Linked DNA regions of Homo sapiens: region 1 is linked to region 2. Evidence: promoter capture Hi-C in human tissues and cell types (Jung and others, 2019). All regions are on one chromosome and are shown on one strand. The core of a region is centred on a gene start or on the middle of the fragment in contact, and the rest is flanking DNA. Distances in the headings are between cores, read along the strand shown. Region 1 holds the start of ZNF799 (zinc finger protein 799). Region 2 holds the start of YIPF2 (Yip1 domain family member 2).

Region 1 (2,750 bases), core at 63-2,562, 1.5 Mb before region 2:
GCCATATATGGCAGACCCACAGCTAGCATGATAATGAATGAGGAAAAACTGAAAGCCTTTCCTGTAAGATCTGGAACACAATAAGAATGCCCACTTTTACCACTGTTGTTCAGCACAGTACTCGAAGTCCCAGCTAGAGCAATAAGTCCAAAAAAAAAAAAAAAAAGAAATAAAGGGCATCTATATTGGGAAGGAAAGGAAGAAGTCAAATTATCCTGGTTTGCATATAATATGATCTTATATCTGGAAATACCTAAAGACTCCACCAAAAAAGTATTAGAACTGAGAAATAAATTCAGTAAAGTTGCAGGATACAATATTAACATACAAAAATCAGTAACATTTTTATATGCCAACAGTGAACAATCTGAAGCTACTTGAGAGGCTGAGGTGGGAGGATTGCTTGAGCTTGGGAGGTAGAGGTTGCAGTGAGCCATGATGGCCCCACTGCACTCCAGCCTAGGCAACAGAGCAAGACCCCATCTCAAACAACCAAAAACGTGTAGAAGGATGGTTACCACAGGCTGGGAAAAGTAGTAGCGAGGAGTAGTTATGGGGGAAGTGGGGATGGTTAATAGGTATAAAAAATAGTTACAAAGAATGAATAAGACCTAGTATTTGCTAGCACAACAGAGTGACTATAGTAAAAAATAATTTAATTGTACATTGAAATATTTTGAAAAATTTCATTGAAAAAGAGTATAATTGGAGCCAGGCGCGATGGCTCACGTCTCTAATCCCAGAACTTTGGGAGGCCAAGGTGGGCGGATCACGAGGTCAGGAGTTCGAGACCAGCCTGGCCAACATGGTGAAACCCGGCCTCTACTAAAACATACAAAAATTAGCCGGGTGTGGTGGCGCGCACCTGTAATCCCAGCTACTCGGGAGGCTGAGGCAGAATTGTTTGAACCCACCTAGGAGGCGGAGGTCGCAGTGAGCCTCGCACCATTGCACTCTAGCCTGAGCCACGGAGCAAGACTCCCTCTCTCTCTCTCTCTCTCTCTCTCTCTCTCGGAAAAAAAAAAAAAAAAAAAAAAAAAAGTATAATTGTTTTGTCAGTCAGTGTACAGGAGGAAGAAGCAGGAGGTCCTATTGAGTACAGGCAGGAAATTCCGCTTAAGTGCAAATATCCCTCGGGAGGATTCAGATCAAAGAGCAGGGAGGAAGCCCGCCCTGCCAAGGGCTGTGTCAGGAACTTGCTCATCTGGCTCCACTCAGCTGTGCAAGATCGCTTCTTCTGTCAATCAGTCCACGAGGGGCGGCACCTGACGCCGTATCCAGTAAGGGCCGTGGGGCGGGTTCGTGGGAACTGTCAATCAGGCGCGCTTCCCAGAGGAGTGTGTGGTTGAAAAAGCCCGCGGCGTCTTCTCCACCCACCTGCGCTGGGCGCTCGGTGCTCGGCTCTGTAGCTAAGAGACGACCTGGAAGTTCCGTGGCAGCCTGTGTCCCGCGGGAACCCGCATTGGCAGCGGGAGCCGTCCGGAGGACCTGGGACACCGCGGAAGTCGGGAAATGGTGCGTGTGCTGGGCCGGCGTCCCGAGGCGGGGGAGGGGCTGGGTGGAACCTGCAGTAATCGGCTGTGGCTGGACCCGGGCCTCCCCAAGGGCTACTCCGGGATCTACGGACCCGGGTTCCCCTGGCGTAGGTCGGCCCTCGGCCGCAGGGTGGGGCTGGGCATGCAGCCGGGACCCCGGGCGTCCTGTCCCGTTCCTGCGCGGCGACTGCGGCCCCGGCGCCCTCTCTGGGCAGCTCCGCGCCCGCAGCCTCGCGTCTCCCGAGATTGTGCGGCTGTAAGCAACACAGGTTCGCGGCCCGACTCACTGCACCGAGACGCTGAGGGCTGCAGCAGAAACAGTTTAATAGCCAGAGAGGGGAGGACACCCCAGATCCGCCTCCCTGAGGGATTTGGGGTCTGGACGGGGGCGGCTGGGTGTAGGGTCGTTGGTTGGTGGGGAAGTGAGGGGTGAATCCTGGGACAGGAGGTGAAGAAACCGCATTCTGCTGAATGGGCTCCCTCGTTGGGACTTCAACCTGATTGGCGCCAGCCTTTGCTGGGATTCAGGATCTGAGAACTCCGGCGACTCTTGAGCAGTTCTCAGAGATCTTATCCCCAGGCACAATGGGGAAGCCGGCGGTCAGCGTCTGCTGTGACCTGACTCTCAGGGAGGCGGCCCCTTGAGGCAGCGGGGCTGAGGGCACCTGGTTAATATCTAACTGCAATCTCGCCTCCAGCCTGGCTCGCAGTTCCTGTGAACCCGGTGAGGAGGCTGCACGGTGACGACGAGTCACCAGGTGGAATCCAGACTCGTGTGTGGGGTTTGTGTGTGGGAGGAGCTGTGGTCTCCGTGGTCCTCAGTCCCTTCTTTCTTTCCAAGGGCGACCGTTTCCCCTCTGAGTCTTCCAAAGATGTGGTTAGCAGGGTCTCAAATCCACCACTGTGTTCTCTCATCCTGACTCCTCCTAGGGCTGGCAGCAAATCTCTTGGTTTCCAGAGACTTCCCCAGGCTAACCTTCTGTCCTTAATTCACAGCAACGGTATGAACTGTTTGGCCCCCAGGCGATATTTCACTAGTTTGTCATCTTGTTTTCAGCTAGCAATGTATGGCTTTTTCTTGAAAGAATTATTTTGGGTTCCTGAACACGGTGGGTCATTCCTGTAATTCCAGCACCTTGGGAGGCTAAGGCAGAGGTATTGCTTAATCTTAGTAGTTCCAGACCAGCCTGGGCAACATGGCAAGACCTTGTCTCT
Region 2 (3,005 bases), core at 433-2,932:
GCAGGCAAAACAGAGCAAGACCCTGTCTCAAAAAAAAAAAAAAAAAAAACGAGAGAGAATAGGTCATAGAATAAAAACATTTCAGCTCAAATTTTATTTAGTTAATTACTATTATTATTCTTTTTTGTAGCATCGGAGTCTTGCTATGTCACTCTAGCTGGCCTCAAACTCCTGGCCTCAAGCGATTCTCTTGCCTCAGTTTGCAAACTGCTGGGATTACAGACATCACCATGCCAGGCCACAACCCAAACTTGAAAAAGAAAATCTAAGTGGCCTTAGAAGAGTTTGCAAGTCAGCTGACCAATGTGGTACCTCCTTAAGGAGGGCCTCTGAGGCCCGATGAAAAAGGCTTATATAAAAGGCTCATGACCAGCTCTGCCAGTGATGAACATGTGTCAAGTCGTTCTGCTGTCCCCAACTCCCGGACCCAGGTGGCTCTGAATTAGCTTCAGCTAATAAAGAACAAAGACGGGGGGCAGAAAGGCTCCCCAAACTTGTGCAAATCCAGTGAGAAAACACTTTGCACATCATCTGTCTCAGCTGTTCTGCAGGTGAGGCACACTCAGAACTGCACCACCCCAGGCAAGCAGTTTGCCAGGACTCGGGGGCCTCAGGGTTTCATCTCGGGGCCTCCGCCTGCACCAGCGAGTGGGCCTGGCTCAGGGCGAGCCTGTCCTTCTTCTCCTTCTGCAAGACCTGCTCCTCCCACAGCGCCTGGTCCACCTGATCGTCGGTGAGCACGACAGGCTTGTACTTCTCATCGAAGAGCCGCTCGTTGGTCTCGGAATGCAGCTGCTGGGGCCCGACCACCCGCAAATGCGCCGGCAGGTGCAGGAATTCGTCGTCGTTGATGTCGCAGTCGCGCATCCAGGCCCCCAGCACCCACCAGCGACCCACGAAGCCCACGTCCAGGACCCGGCCGGGGAAGTCGGTCCAGCGGGGCTGCAGGTAGCGGCAACGCGCCTGGTAGAGGCTGGCCTGGGCGTCGAAGGGCGCCTCGTACACCAGCGAGCAGAGCCCCAGGTTGACGTAGCGCAGGCGGCCACGGCCCCGCAGCCAGAGCAGCCTCTGCACGAAGGCTTCGGACTCGCGGTTGCGGGTGGCCGGCGCCAGCAGCAGGAGGGTCCCCGACGCCTCCAGCAGCGCCTCCTCGAAGGCACCCTCGCTGGGCGCCAGCGTGAAGCAGGCCGCCGCGCCGCCCAGCAGACCCACATACACAGCGGCGCGCCCCGGCCGGGCCCTAGCCTCCGCCGAAGCGTCCCTGCAGGCCTCGGCGTAGTCCCGGAGCAGCGCGCGGGCCCAGGACCCTGAGGGGAGAGGAGCGCGGTAAGAGTGATCCGGCCGCGGCGGCCACCCACCCTGTCGCGGCGGCCACCCACCCTGCCGCCTTCCGCCGCTACTCACCCAGCCGCGCCCACACTCCCGGCTTCGCCACTACCGCGTCGCCCGCCTCTGCGCGGCGCCGGGACCAAAATCTCCTCAGAGCCGCCGCGGCCATCCTCTTCCGTCTTGGGGGTCCTTGCTCCGGGAAGAAACTCCTGATACCCGACGTTAAGAGCCCGGGAGTCTCTTCTGCGCAAGCGCCAACTTTACCGGAAGTGGCTTCCCAACGGGAGAGGATAGAAAGAGGACAGGCGCCGGATGTTGCTGTCAGGTCTGAGTCGGTTGGAGTCTGACGGGTAGGCGAGACGCGCAGGCGCAGAGAGCCCCAGCCACGCCGGCCCAGGTGGCCTCAGGTGAGGGGGGGCGGAGCGCACCTGTGGGGACGGGACGACGAGTTCAAGCCTCCGTGGGTGCAGTTGGTCGCCAGGTAGGGCTGGGGGCCGAGGGACCGGCTCGGGGGCGGGGGGGAAGTGTGCCTGACCGGTCTCTGTCCTCAGCGAGGGATGCGGAGACGCCCCTGAACGACCATGGCATCGGCCGACGAGCTGACCTTCCATGGTGAGTGCGGCCCCGACGTGGCCGGATCTCCCACTCCCGCCCCGGGCCAGAACCTCCCCCCGATACGGCTTCCAATTTCTCTACCCCGAAGCCTAGGCGGCTGTGAACCCTGACCCAGGAGTGAGACCCATCTCTGACTCGAACCCCGCCCCCGCCCTGAACTCAGACCTCAAACCCGAGCCTCTCGTCCCCAGACCCTGACCCCATCCCAGCGTCAACCCTAAGTTGCAGTTCCACTTTAGGAGGAAGGGAACAGATGTCCTCCGGATGCCTCCAAACTGAGGAAGTTGGGCCCCACCTTGGGGGAGATCAATGGCTCAGCAGAGCCTCCGCCCCCAGATGAGCATCGGTTTAGCTTGGGCCCAGTCGAGTTCTTTCCACCCCTCAAACGTGCGTGTGTCCCATATACCTCCTCCACAGAATTCGAGGAGGCCACTAATCTTCTGGCTGACACCCCAGATGCAGCCACCACCAGCAGAAGCGATCAGCTGACCCCACAAGGGCACGTGGCTGTGGCCGTGGGCTCAGGTGGCAGCTATGGAGCCGAGGATGAGGTGGAGGAGGAGAGTGACAAGGCCGCGGTGAGTCCCTGTGTCCTGCCTCCTTGCAGCCCCCAGCTGACCCAGGCTCTCCGGGCAGGCACTGAATGCCCGCAATGTGCAGCTCCTGCAGGAGCAGCAGCAGCAGCAGCAGCCGGGATTCTGGACCTTCAGCTACTATCAGAGCTTCTTTGACGTGGACACCTCACAGGTCAGGCTGGGGAGGCAGGTGGGATGGGGCTCAGAGTTATGCTCAGGGTTCAGCCACTCTTCCCCTGGGCAGGGTGCTGGTGATGGTGGGTGCTGGTGAACGAACTGTGGTGCTCTCAAAGGGTTATGGTGGGACTGGTTATGGATCGGGACTATGGGAACACAGGGGACACACACAATCTGGTGGGTTAGAGAAAGGCCTCCTGGGGGAGGTGAGGAATTGGCTGAGACCTAAAGGAGACAGAAGGCTTCCCTGGGGAATAGGGTAGGGAAGCAGGAGTATATGTTCCAGGCACAGGGAACAGCATATGCAGA

The links. Contacts are between HindIII fragments. The study calls those that stand out against the background at their distance.
Region 1: a contact is called between the fragment with the promoter of ZNF799 here and the fragment with the promoter of YIPF2 in region 2, in 1 of the 25 tissues and cell types used here (hippocampus).

The regions. Positions count from the first base shown.
Region 1 is chr19:12,399,833-12,402,582 of GRCh38, reverse strand. ZNF799 (zinc finger protein 799) reads left to right here and starts at 1,312. Exons shown (of 4, transcript NM_001080821.3): 1 at 1,312-1,515. The coding sequence starts at 1,513. RefSeq lists enhancers at 1,158-1,207, 1,928-2,017 and a silencer at 1,538-1,697. The HindIII fragment of the contact is 18,323 bases long and covers 1-2,750 here.
Region 2 is chr19:10,927,316-10,930,320 of GRCh38, reverse strand. It overlaps YIPF2 (Yip1 domain family member 2), which reads left to right and starts at 1,682. Exons shown (of 10, transcript NM_001321439.2): 1 at 1,682-1,810; 2 at 1,881-1,941; 3 at 2,362-2,522; 4 at 2,605-2,691. The coding sequence starts at 1,911. It overlaps TIMM29 (translocase of inner mitochondrial membrane 29), which reads right to left and starts at 1,510. Exons shown (of 2, transcript NM_138358.4): 1 at 1,405-1,510; 2 at 67-1,307. The coding sequence starts at 1,498. The coding sequence ends at 619. RefSeq lists silencers at 1,065-1,114, 1,155-1,434 and enhancers at 1,648-2,348, 2,349-3,005. The HindIII fragment of the contact is 42,517 bases long and covers 1-3,005 here.